Regions from separate parts of the Homo sapiens genome. Here all the other regions are linked to region 3. The links are contacts of gene promoters, found by promoter capture Hi-C in blood cells and fetal thymus (Javierre and others, 2016). All regions are on one chromosome and are shown on one strand. The core of a region is centred on a gene start or on the middle of the fragment in contact, and the rest is flanking DNA. Distances in the headings are between cores, read along the strand shown. Region 1 overlaps LOC124902983 (a long non-coding RNA gene). Region 2 overlaps PLEKHG7 (pleckstrin homology and RhoGEF domain containing G7). Region 3 holds the start of DCN (decorin).

Evidence for each region. Contacts are between HindIII fragments. The CHiCAGO score rates a contact against its expected background, and 5 or more counts as called.
Region 1: a fragment that was not itself captured here is called in contact with the fragment with the promoter of DCN in region 3 in 2 of 17 cell types (total B cells and naive CD4 T cells); the score reaches 7.0 in total B cells.
Region 2: a contact is called between a fragment that was not itself captured here and the fragment with the promoter of DCN in region 3, in 4 of 17 cell types (total CD4 T cells, naive CD4 T cells, naive CD8 T cells and 1 more). The highest score is 8.2, in total CD4 T cells.

What each region holds. Positions count from the first base shown.
Region 1 is chr12:92,642,162-92,646,375 of GRCh38, forward strand. The region is part of intron 1 of LOC124902983 (a long non-coding RNA gene); the gene reads right to left. Among named protein-coding and RNA genes, the nearest start is that of PLEKHG7, 59 kb to the right of the region's middle. The HindIII fragment of the contact is 1,688 bases long and covers 1,518-3,205 here.
Region 2 is chr12:92,728,999-92,733,697 of GRCh38, forward strand. PLEKHG7 (pleckstrin homology and RhoGEF domain containing G7) reads left to right here. Exons shown (of 17, transcript NM_001377329.1): 4 at 1-122; 5 at 3,235-3,275. Among named protein-coding and RNA genes, the nearest start is that of PLEKHG7, 28 kb to the left of the region's middle. The HindIII fragment of the contact is 1,202 bases long and covers 2,109-3,310 here.
Region 3 is chr12:91,181,111-91,185,969 of GRCh38, forward strand. It overlaps DCN (decorin), which reads right to left and starts at 1,707. Exons shown (of 8, transcript NM_001920.5): 1 at 1,545-1,707. The HindIII fragment of the contact is 3,983 bases long and covers 1-3,675 here.

The DNA of each region.
Region 1 (4,214 bases), core at 1,112-3,611, 1.5 Mb after region 3:
TAAACACAGATACAGAGAGACTGAGAGAATGACAAAGTAAATGTAAGTATTATTAACAACTGGAACATATGGGGTGCAGTACACAAGGATTCTTTGCACCATTCTTGCAACTTTTCTATAAGTTTGAAATGATCGCAAAATTAAAACATTTTTTAAATAAAGGAAAATTATTTAAAAATCTTCATTTGGCAAGAAAGAAAGCTTTAAATTAGGTTGGGTTCTGCACGTGGTTGCACAGGTAGTAGGCCAGAAAGCAAGGAGTTGAAACCAAATCTGCCCCTTGCTCTTAGCCACCACAGCATACTGCCTACTCACAGACAGCCAAGTCCACATATTAGAAAGTTTCATTCATATTAAATGTCCATAATAGGCAAATATATAGAGACAGAAACTAGATTAGTGGTTGCCTAAGGCTGGGAGCAAGAGAGGAAATGGGAAGATGAGAGAGTGATAACTAAAGGATGCAGGATTTCTTTTCAGAGTGATAAAAATATTCTACAATCGATTATGGTGATGGTTGCAAACTCTATGAGTATATTAAAAACCATTGAATTGTACACTTTAGGTAGATGAATTACATGGTATGTAAATTATATGCAATATGAATCACATCTTAATAAAGCTGTTACCAAAAAAAAACCCAAAATTTACAAACGCTGAGAACTTTGTATTTCTGAATAACATTGTGACATTCAACTCTATTTCATACACAAGTAACTTCTTCGGAACAAGAAAGAATCATGCTGATGAAACCAACCCAATAGTCCCATAGGCAGTTTTTTTCTTGGAAAAACATAAAAATTGACCCTTTGGGTCTTCATGTTTGAAATTTCATTTGTTTTATCTGAGTTCCTTCTTCAGGAAAGGACTCCCAGACCTCTCAAAAAGTATCAAAAAATTAAAACTCACCAGATCATCGTATCCAGACAATGAGACACCAGACCCCTCATTCATCATGATTGCTTCCTTGCCCCTCCCTAGTTCCTGTTTTCCCATACATTTCTTCCCTGCTATATAAACCCCTAATTTTAGTCAGTCAGGGAGACGGATTTGAGACTGATCTCCCAACTCCTTGGCTGGAGCACCCAATTAAAGCCTTCTTTCCTGGCTATGTTCATCGTCTCAATTATTGGTTTTCTGTGTGGTGGGCAGCAGGACCTAGGCCAAATCCCTGGTGTTTTGGTAACACTGGCACCAAAAATAACGGTGAACTGCTGCACCATTCATCATTAAAGCACAGAGCAGCCCTTGACTGAAGCTTGAGATCAACAAACCACATATAGAAGGTGACTGACAATATGTCTGCCTAGAAGGTGAGTCCCATGGCACCTGCTCAGCCTTTTGAGGATCATTCTACATAAAGCTAAAGAGGAAAGCAAGTGGACTTTGTTTCCATTACAATAAAATCCAGTAAGTGCTTGGTTGAAGAGGAGAAATTCATATTATATTCTCCTCATCAACCTTGTTCAATGTTTGATCTCCTGAACCACTGAGATGCTAAAATCCAATTGTAGAAAAGCTTTGATTTCATTTTTGCTTTATGTATTTCTATACCATTTGAATGTTGTCAAAACAATTTGTAACATTTTGCTCTTATTCAGAGTAATTTTTTGTGTTGAAGAAGTAGGAAGATGTCTCAAACTGGGACTGCACCAGGGCCTTTTGTATGATAAGAATAACAGAATGCAGAATGTCCCAATTAACTTAAAATTATCTACTTAGAGGCTGGCTTCTTAGGAAAGGCCTGCCTTTCCTATGGATATAAAACTACTTATGGGATTATGTGAGATCTCCTATAGGCCCTTATAGCTTCCTAAAATCCTTTCTGGAAATAATAGGGCATTGCAAAATAAATCTTCAATAGCAATTGATATGACAAATAGGATATAAGTAACTCTTATTCTACAGAAAAAAAATCACAGAGACACTTGGGTTGAAGGATTCAAGCCTTCAGTGGAGTCTTTTTTGCTGTTTCTTTCTGTGTTTTTGCTGAGTACAGAAACTAGGTAGCCAAAGGCAAAAATTCCCTTCTCTGAAGGGTTCAGATACTGCTCAGATGCACCATCTCCAAAGATCATGTCCACACAGACTAAGAACAAGTGCTCTCAGATTGAAACCAATCTGGATCTGAATCCTAGCTCCATTATACCTTAAAATTAAGTGTGACTTAGTCAAGTTATTTACCCTCGGTAAGATTGTCTTTCCATTTGCACAAGGGGAATAGTAATATTTACTACCTCTTCAGGATGTTTTGTAGATCAAGTAAAACATAGAACACACCATTATAAAGCATGGCACATAGAAAGCACCCAATATGCATTAGTTATTGTTAGTCCAAGAGAAAGTTCCATCTAAAATCATATAGTGTCTCCTGTCCCCTAAAAACCTATAAGGTACCTATCACAAAAGTGTAATCTTCTGAACCTCAGTTTTCCTATTTTGCAAATGAGAATAATACCTATAGCAAAGGTAAAAATTAAATAAGAAAATACATGTGACAGTAATTTGTAAATTACATGGCTCTATTTGCCTTGTTTAATATACTAGTTTTGGCAGCAAGAAAAAACTGACAAGTTACATATAAGAAACTCTCCATTAGATTATCAGAGTTCTCAGCAGAAACCTTGCAGGCCAAAAGAGAATGGGATGATGGATTCAAAGTGCTGGAAGGAGAAAAAAAGCTAGTAACCAAAAATACTATACTAATACTTCAGAAATGAAAAAGAAATAAAATATTTTCCATACAAGCAAAAGCTGAGGGAATTCATCACTACTAGACCAGCCTTACAAGAAATTCTTGTGCTACAATTAGAAGGAAAAGGATAATTACTATAATAAAAACATGTGAAGGTATAAAAGTCACTAGTAGAGGTAAATTCATAATCAAACTCAGAACACTCTAGTACTAGAATAGTATTATGGAACTCTTTCAAGCCTCTAGTATGAAGGTTAAAAGTCAAAATGGTCAAAAATAACAATAGCTACAATCAGTCTAAAGTAACACAATAGATAAAGATGTAAATTAAGACAATAAAAATATAAACTGGGTGGGGGGCGGGGGCCTCGAGTATTTTTTGTGACCAAAGCTAAACTGTTATCACCTTAAAATAGTCTATTATAACTACAAGACTTTATGTCAACCCCACAATAATCACAAAGAAAGAAATTCCAAAAGATACACAAATTAGAAAGAGAAAGGAATCAAAGCTTAGCACCACAGAAAAGCATGAAACCAAAATGGTAAAGAGAGGAAGAAAAGGGCAAAGGATCTATGACACAACCAGAAAACAATTAACAAAATAGGAGTAAGTTCTTACCTATCAATAATAACCTTAGTTATTTGTTTAGCTAGAGTTTAAGTCAAGTTATTTATTTAGATAGAGATTAAGTCAAAAACCATACAAAGAAAGAAAAAATTGTAAAAAAGAAACAAAGTAGTAATCTGTCATGGGAGTAGAGAAAAAAATGAAGAGATTAAAACAGTCATTATGTAATGGTAAAGGGATTGATTCAGCAAGAGGATATTACAATCAGAAATGTATATATACCCAACACAAGAGCACCCAAATATATAAAGCAAATACTATTAAATCTACAAAAAGAGACCAGCCACAATGCAATAATATTAAGGGACTTTAACAACCCACTTTCAACAATAGAAAGATCATCTAGACAGAAAAGAACAAAGAAGCATTGGACTTAAAGTGCACCCTAGACACAGACATTTACAAAACATTCTATCCAGCAGCTTCATAATACACAATTCTTCTCAACTGCATGTGGAACATTCTCCAGGATAGATTATATGTCACAAAACAAGTCTTAACAAATTTAAGAAGATAGAGGTCATGTCAAGTATCTTTTCTGACCACAACGATATTAAACTAGAAATCAATAACAGGAGGAACTTCAGAAAATTTACAAATATATGGAAATTAAACAGCATGTTTTTGAATGAACAATAGATCAATGAAGAAATTAAAAGAGAAATTTAAAAAAAAATTAAGACAAACAAGAAAGCAAAGACAACATACTAAAACCTATGGGATACAAAAATAAAAGCAATTCTAAAGGGAGGTTTATAGCAATAAACATCTACATCAAAAAGATAAGAGATTTCTGATAAATAACCTAATGTTGCACCTCGAGGAACTAGAAAACAAGAACAAACTAAATTAAAAATTGGTAGAAGGAAGAGCATAGTGAAGCTCAGA
Region 2 (4,699 bases), core at 1,460-3,959, 1.5 Mb after region 3:
CGAGCACAGGCGGAGTTCTGTGGTGCTGAACTTACCTGGACTTGAGGTGTTCCCCGGGGACCTTCTGGTGTCAGATGGAGCTGCTGATTACCTATGCCATCCACTTCTGCTGCTGAATTCAGGTTCTGTTCATTCAGTATACTTTCATTCCATGCCCACTGTGGAACAGATATTGCCATAACCAGGGGGAATTTTCAAAATATTGAATAATTAGTAGAATATATGCACTGACCTGTTACAATCAGCCTCACCAATTACAACGGGCACCAGCTGTTACTGGAATTACGGGAACCAGCTGAGTACCAGTCTTGGTATTGGGCATTCCATTTACAGAGATGAATAAGGTATGGTTCTTCCCTTAAAATGTCTTCTGGCCAAATGTCTTATCCCAGGCCCAAGACCTGAGACAGGTGCAGCATCCTAGATCAGAGTGCCCTCTCTAGGCTGGTGAGTAGCTTCCCCATTATTGCTGTCATGTTCATCTCCCACCCCACTCCTGGGCTTCAGCCTCACACTGATATCTTCCAACCAGGGTGGTACCATGGGGAGGCAGAGGTGCCGGTGGCAGATGAGTGTCTGATAGACAGGCAGCTTTAGGGATAAAGCGTCTGCATCTTCATCTCATTTGTGAAATAAAAGAACAATTAGGGTCTTCAGAGTGTTTTCTTCAAGATTCTGGGGATAGGTAAATCAAAGCCTTTGAGAGCTAAGAGGAGACTTAAGGATTATCCATGCTGGTGGTTTTTAAACTGGTTTAGTTCTTAGCAGAGTCCTTTTTACAAAAGAATCCTTGCTTGGAAATCCAATGTATAAAACAAATCCAGGTGAAGTTGCAATGCTTGCAGCTGAGATGAGCCCCAAAGACTCACCTCCAAGGCATCCCCAGGAGTCTCAGACACCCAACAAAACAGTTTAAAAACCACCAGGGTCATCCCTCATTCACATATGTGTGAGTGAGACCCAGAAAGGAGAAGTGGCCTAGTCATGGGGTCAGCTGGTTTGTGCAGAGAAATGGAATCAAGGCTCCTGACTGTGAGTCCAGTGCCCTCTCTACCAGTCTGCATCTGTTATCATCTGTCATCTATTGTATGGGCAGCTGCAGTCTCCTGTACGTGGAGCCCAGGACCACCAGTGAATACATCATAACTAACATGTTTATAGCTCTTTATTTTTACAGAGCCTTTCACATCTACTTACTGTCTTATATGATACAGTAATCCAAGTGAACAAACCAAGAGGGATTAAGTGATCTGCTTGAGGACATGCCCCTAGAAATCTGAGCTAGTTCTAAACACAATGTGGCCTTAACAGAGGTTACTACATTTTAAGAGGCTTTAGAATGCTGTCAATTAGTTAACAACTACAACAGTGGTTCTCAAAGGCTGTCCCGAACTAGCAGCTTTGCCATCACCTGAGAAGTTGTTAGAAATGCAGATTCCAGGCTGCCCACCCCCAAGACCTTCTGAATCAGAAACTCTGGGGGTGGTGTCCAGCAGTCTGTTAGTCCATTTTGTTTGTTGTGGTGGTGGTGGTGGTTGTTGTTTGAGACAGAGTCTCACTCTGTGGCCACCACCACGCCTGGCTAATTTTTTTGTACTTTTAGTAGAGACGAAGTTTCAACATATTGGTCAGGGTGGTGTCGAACTCCTGACCTTAGGTAATCCACCTGCCTTGGCTTCCCAAGGTGCTGGGATTACAGGCGCAAGCCGCTGTGCCCAGCCAGCAGTCTTTTTTAACAAGTTCTGCAGGTGATTTTGATGCCGGCTACAGTTTGAGAACCACATGCTAAGGAACAAGTTCATCGCTGCTTCTACATCTCACTAGCTGTTATTTTTGTGTGTGCCTAGCATCGTGGTAGATACCACACAGCAAAAGATAAGCAGCCTCCTCCCTATACCCCTCTGCCCTCTTCTCAGGAGTTTAGAATAGAGGCCTCATGTTCCCAAGTCACGGTCTAAAGCAGTGCTGCTCACGCTTTGCTGTGCATATGAGTCACCTGCAGATATAGTTGAAATAAAGATTCTGGCTTAGCAAAATTGTATATTTAAGGCAGATAATGAAAGATTGTGGATTCAATAAGGACTCATGAATCTTCTGAATATTTACAAAGCTTTCCCAAGGCTCCAAAGCTAGAAAAGCACAGGAGAGAAATTGGCCAAGGATCAGGGACCCCAATTATTGCAGTTCAAATTGGATGTAATAATTTACTGCCAGGCATGTGAAATCTAAGTGTGGTGAAGCTGATTTGTGCCTAAGGGAGAGTCCACCTAATCTCTCTTTAATAAAGATCAATAAGCTGGTCAAAATGAATGAGAGGATAATCTGTTGGGCAGGTGCCTCCCAAGGTTACAGTGGGAAGGTGCCTTAAGCACATCCTTTGCAGTAAATGCTGCTCAGTTCATTGCTTCCCTTTGATTGAATTATTATGCACACTCTCCTGGGGGATCTGATAGAGAGAGAGATGGACGTATAAGACATCCATTTTGTATGCTGAATGGTCAGAACATGCCACCCACACCTAAGAGACAATTTTCAGCTTTGGCTAGGTAGCATTACAACTTTATGCAAACAGCATAAAATTCAAAAGGCTAGAATCCAATCGAATCTCTTTCCTTCCTGGTCTTCCAAATAATGAGGGATTGAATAACGGCTTCCTTCTCAAGTCAAAGCAACTCCTAGAAGATGGCCAGTAGCAAGAAGCCCCGACATGGGTGATGTTTTAATGTTCCCTATTTTGGGAGTCTTCATTTAACCACATCTGGGGATTATGAGTGAATGCAGTTTCCAAGTCTCCCATTTGCTCAAGCTATTGAAGTTTGCATGTGATGGGGGCGTTCTGGAAAGATGGTGTGAAAATGAAGGGCCTGTCCTTTTAGCCCCAGAGTGCTTTGGCTCCCTGTCTTAAATAAATTACTCAACATCTTCAGTACAGTTTATAGATTTCCTTTCAAGCAATGAGGAAAAAGAGTTTAAATAATACACCAGTAAAGAAACAGGACAGTACCACCTTAAGGCAGCAACAGAACACCAACTTTTAGGTTGCAACATTGTTTCATTCACTTGTCTGCAAAAATATAAATATTCATTTTGTGCATTCTCAAGAGAAAGAGAATTAAAGCAGGATGAATTCTGTTTGGCTAATTTTCAAAAAGCAGGTTTTGTAAAGCACTACGATGATCTGTCGCTAGTTACTCTAAGTACTCGTAATAATATATTGTCTTTAATTTCACCCAGAATCCAAAAAGCCAAGATGGCCTTTCTCCAAAAGAGGAGTGGTAAGTGTTGCAAATTGCCATTTTTGTTTTAATTAAGCTTCCTGTAGCTAAGAAAGTAAGAAATGGCTGAAGAGTCTCTTCATTCTGCTTTATCTTTGTATAAAGGCAGATGGCACGTGAAATATAAATGATATCATCACATCCGTAGTATTGGCTACGGAACATGCCAAGTGGTGCCAATTTGTGCAGCGAAACAGTGCTAATTGCCAGTGGTTAATTAGTTCTGCAAAAAAACACAAAGCAATCCTAATATAGTGATGCTTTACAACACTAAATTTATAACTTGCTGCTTAGAAAGCAGCTCACTCGATGAAGCAAACTTGCACAAATGTATGCCCCAGTTTGCAGTTAGTGTCGTGTATATTGGGAACATTGAAAAATGAATGAGATCTTACAGAAACAGATTCTGCAAATACACTTCTATTTCTGGGAAAGCCAATTGGATTAATCCTAGTGGGTTTAAATTCATTCTTGGCTCCATCAATAATTGACGAGTTATCCATCTCAATCAGCGGTCCCTGAGACTTTACTGCCTAAGACAAGGGTGGCCACAGTCAAGCCGTTCCTTCTGGCATGCTGTGGGAAGAGGGAGGGAATGTTCATGATGACAACCTGACTCCTGTTTTCTAGGGGGAGAAAAGGGACTGATTTGTGTTCTCCCAGCATTACTAGTTGCATTACTTACACACCACGACCAGCAGCAGCAGCGGGGCCTTATGGACTGTTACTATGCCTCATTCTGTTAAAAATCTGCCCACGTGGCCTTGCCAATCAGTTTGGCATCAGTTGCTGACATCTGCAGTGGTTCTATGGACACACACACCTTGCTATTTTTTAAGTCCCATCGCTAAATAAAAAGCCCTCTGAAGTTCTAATTCTAGCTGCTTCCCTTACTGCCCTATGACCTTGGCCAAATGGATTACTCTCCCTCAACTCAGATCTTCCCTATAAAAGGCAGAAGACCAGTGCCAGCCTCACAGGGTGATTGTAACGAATGCCGTATAATGCAAGTGGAGCCTACCCCAGAGCTGAGCACACACAGACGCTCAGTCAATCTTGGCCGTATCACTAGTAGTAGTATCTTTAATTAGGGTTTGGAAAACAACTTATTCTCATAGCCAAGTGTATGATTGACTTTCACTTTTTTTCCCAAAAATAAAACGTTTATATGGAACATACTGTAAACATTATGAGCTGCAAATCTTAAATTGTTAGTAAAATGGTAACACCATTGCCACCAGGGCTGTTGCTCATCAGTCATTTAGAGACGTGCTTTGTCTGTTTTTCTGACAGATCTGAGACAAGGCTTATGATGCAGCCCCTCCTGAGCTCTTTCTTCGAATAAACAGAGGCAGAGCTGGTCACCAATCACATCTGAGGTCTCAGGAGAAGGGGCATCTCCCCCCTAGCCCTCCCGAGGGCTT
Region 3 (4,859 bases), core at 457-2,956:
CTTTATTTCATTTTCATTTGCTCGTGTGTGTGTGTGTGTGAGAGAGAGAGAATGTATGTGTGTGTGTTCATGTGTGTGTGACAGAGAGAGAGTGTATGTGTGTGTGTGCATTTAACCCTGACTGTACTGTGAAAAAATAATTGCATGTCCAGAAACTTTGTGCAAAATCTTCCATAAAATCATCTGTTTTAAATTAGTGTCATGGTACTTCAAGACCCAGCATCTTAAAACATTTAATGTGGGCTGTCAATACTGATAATTCCTTTCGTCATTTCCTTCTTTCCTTAATTAATCAGAAATATAAAGAGCAAAGAGCAGCTGTCCAAGTAGTAACCAAAGAGATTGTTATTGAGATGATATGCTGTTTAAATTATACTGAAACTGTTTTAAGTAGTCTAAAAATGCATGACAATGTCCAAGATGCTAATTACTAATGTAATATCACTACTCCACTGAAGCTAGTTGCCATAGTTTACAAATGTTTTACCAAAAATAATAATTTCTGGTTCCTAAAACTAGTTAAGCCCATTAAATGAAGTATGTCATCCAGATCAACATTTGCATTATGTTATCTATGCCTCTGGTGTCACTTTCAAAGTCAAAATTTAACCCTCAAGAGATAAGTGAAGCTATAAATGCAAAACAAAATTAAAATCCTACAGCACTAGATGATTAAAAACTTCAATTATAATATATGTAATTTTAAAATAAAGAATAAAGGCGGCATTTATCCACAAACAAGGGTTACTATAGGAGGCATTTGGCTCTTTTCTGGTTAGAAACAGCAACAGGAAAAAAAAAAGCCACAGGTATTTACATCACTGGGAGCCCACTTAATCAGTGGTCACTGTGTTACCCTGTTTTAAAATTAGAAAATTAACCCACATCCTCATTTTATAGTGAATGTATCTTAAAATTTCACTTGCAGTGAAGATACTGACTGGGACACTTTACATTTAAGAAATTATACAGCGTTTTTAGTATCTTAGGCATTTAATAACATAAATATTTTCAATGTTTATTTTCACTTCTCTGGTGATAATTTCTGTTCATTTCTGGGGTTGAAGAAATATACATTAGGTATTTTCAGCTAATCACCAGAGTTCAGTTCTTCTGGGCTTTTAAAAGTCCTTAAAGCAATCAAAAATTCAGGAGAAAAATACATTTTTTAAATATATAGGTCAATTACAGATATGCTACTTCAGAATACTTTTCGGTTACCATCTCTTGAAGAGCTAAACATTCATTAATACAAACACAAAAACATTAATATAGAGAGTCATGGTGTTAGGTTACAGTTTTTTAAGAAGCATCTTTGCAAAAACAGAAGAGAAAGAAATAAAACAATGCATTCAATCATTTTATCAAATATTTAACTTCTGTTTTCAAATAATACTTGTTTAAAATGTTGCATAAAAACTATAAAAGTTTAACAGTTTTTTTTTTCCTTTTCTTTTTCTCACCAAATAATCCCTTTTGCTCGCAACTTGACCGAAGTTTTATTAGTCTGTAGCAGAGTTCAGGACAATTATTGAAAACCATACCTTTTAATCCGGGAATTTGCCACAGGAGCCCTCAAAGCTGAGATGTAATTACACTAAATATTCAGCCCAAGTAAAAGAGTTTGCAGGTGTGGAAAGGAGGAGGGGGTAGGTGCTGCTCTGTGACTAGGTTGAAAACCTCCTGCTTCTACTCCATAGCACAGTTAAAAAATAAGGTTTCCCTCAATGAACACAATCCGGCTGACACCCACATTAGATCATATGGTAATGATATGTCTCTTGTATTGTAGCCAGAAACTTTATCGGCCTTTTTTTTCCTCCCATTTGCTTTATTCTTTTTGCATCTGCTTAAGATTCTAAACTGCTTATGCAGTATAGTGGAGCAACTTGATTTGAAATTTGTCTTATTGTAGATTCATTTCCCTAAGATATTGTAACTAAAGGGTTTGTTTCCCCACCCCCCATCTCATTTCATTCTCCACCCTTTCTAGCCTTGTTTACAAGTAGCATTTATTATACTTCCAAAATGACATTTTTTTCTTGCTTTTGGGATGTGTAAGTCCAGAAAAATGGAATGAAATTAATCTTGTAGTTGTTTTAAATGTGGACTGCAAAAATAAATGAGTAGCCTTATGTGAAACTACTCATTCGGATTCCTACTTGCCTTGGAATGTTTGTGTAAATTCAAGCACTATGCTGTGGAGTTTTTCTGTATATTTTGGACATATTTCTAAAGTGTCCTGAAAGAAAGTCATGGTTTTATATGAAAAGTATGTCATCTATCACTTTCATTAATCATAGTTTAAAATCTTTCTCCCTGTCCACCAGTTTTTAAATAAAATACATAGATAACCTGTAGTTGATCACAACATAGTTTCATCCTCTATATATGAAAAATTTGATTTTCATAGATTATACTTTTATGTAAACTAGAACTTTGAAAAGGCAATAGAGTCTATGTGTCTTTCCAAATTTCAGTAAATGAAAAGAAAAACAAGTGCAACTACAAGGAAAGGTATTTATTTAGCCACTGGAAATCTTTTTTGAGCTTTTATAATTCCCTTGCTGGATGCTGTTAGTTGTCTCTGTGTAGGTCTCTGTGTTTTGACTTGTATCATTATGCTCTGGCCCCTAGGCTGTTACCAGGTGGAAACTGGAAATCAACAGTTTGAAACATGAGATGATCCCCCTCCCATCCTCCAGCCTCCTTCCTTCCCTCCTCCAGCCATCAAAGTATATTCTTCCACAGTAAATATTCTTTTTCCTCAAAAAAACTTAGAGAAATTAAATTCTCAAGTGGTATCTAAGGAGGGGGAGGCGTGTTACCACGTTATAGTTTGCCTTATTTCCTAAGCCCAGCCTCTCAGATAAACAATTTACCCTACTCTGCATCTCCTTAACATTTAATAACCACATATCTAGTTATTCTGATAGTTTAGACAAAGGCAAGCACTATTGTCCCTGGACATTGGTGCAAAAGTCCATGATCCCCTTTACTTGGAATTTATTAATTTCCTTTCTGAACTCTCCTTATATGGCATTTATCTCTTTTTGATGACATATAATCACTCCTGCCTCATATTATAATTATTTATGTACGTGTCTTACTCCAAGGGAGGAATGACATTGTGTTCATGTTTGTAGAATCCCTGCACCCAGAATAGCCATGGTATATACTAAGTTACCAAGATACATTTGCTAAATTAGTAAAGACAATCAAATGATTGGCTATGGACCGTACCCGGACTGGTGTTTTGCCCCAATCCTGGCTTACTGTTTATCAAAACTTAACCCTACTAAAGTGTATATGACAAATTATGGCCATCATTACAAGACAGAGAGAGAGAAAAGGAAGTATTAAAGAAAAAGTAGAAGAAGAAAAATGAGGAGGAGGAGAAAAAAAGACATAATGCCTTTTTATGTAGATAATTTTACTTTTATAAAAGCAGAACCATTATGGTTAAGATTTAGATCTTGTTCCTTCCCCCCGATAGTAAGCTATATGAACTCAGGCAACTTGCTTAACCTCTCTGAATTTCAGTTTCCATATCTGAAAAATGGATACAAATTCTTACCTAACTCATAGTGTTGGAGTGGAGATTAAATAAGGCAATATATATAAAACACTTAACTCAGAACTTAATCCTTATAAGTGAAAATCTCTGTAAATGCAAGCTTTTATTATGTCTTGACATATTTCAAAACAATCCTTTGAGTTAGACAAGATAAGTCATATTTACTATTTCTGTTTTACAAATGAGAAAATTGAAGCCCAGTGACTTGCCCAAGTTCACAGAGCTGGCAAGAAACAAAGCAGAAACTAATATCCAGGTCTTCTCATGCCTAATCCACTTTTCATTACTAAACTATACTAAACTATAATGTATCTTAAGAAAGAGGAAGCAAATTCTTACATATAGAAAAGTAATTATCAAAGTTTTGAGATAACATCTTTTCAGACTATTTTACAAACCATGACCAAGTTGCAATGCTTTTAAAACTTTATTTAATTTGTTCAGGAACAAATAAAAATTTTCTTTTTGTTGTTGTTGTTTGGAAAGAAACTCACCTCCAAAATCTCAAGCATTTTACCAAACATCATCATATTTAAAAGCTGCATCTTTAATCACAAGTTACATCTATCGTCATACTCATTTTTCAGTAGAAGAAACTATGTCCCAACAAAGTCATACGCAGTTAAGTCACCAAGAGGTCATGACACTATGACCAGAAACCAGGTCTCTTGCAATCCAACATGAAATGGAACCATTTTAAGACTAGAAACAGCACTGTGCACAGATTGCTTAAAGTCATTCTGGCTTGGAATGTTTGGGGTAGGATTCCCTGAATCCCTGGCTGACATATAGATATGTGAAATATTCCAATTCAGAGCACATCCCACATCTACTGTTAAACTACTTAAACTTTGATTTCTACTGACAACCCACTAGCTAACAGGGTTAACTGTATTCTGCACATTGTCGAAGTTCATTTCAGGGCCATTCTCTCTCATTGACATCACATACAAAGTATTTAATTGTACCTGCCCATTAAGGATATGAAGAATGCCAGAGCTTAGAAAGGTCTCCTTCTGACACCCCTTTACTTTCTAAGAGGTCTAGAGGCAAGTGATTATCTTCACAATCCTGATGTGACTGGTTTGTCTGTAGACTGACTCTGCAAAGTCAGATCTGGGTCTGGTGTGAATTGTCTGGCTCTGTAGTTGCCACTGTAGACAGAGTTCTTCCCTAGCCAAGAAAGATGACTAGCGTGGAACTGAGGGCACTTTGAATACAGAATAGCTTGAAAGAAAATTTGGTGTAGACAACTTTTACCTTGGCTATCTTCCCATGCCTC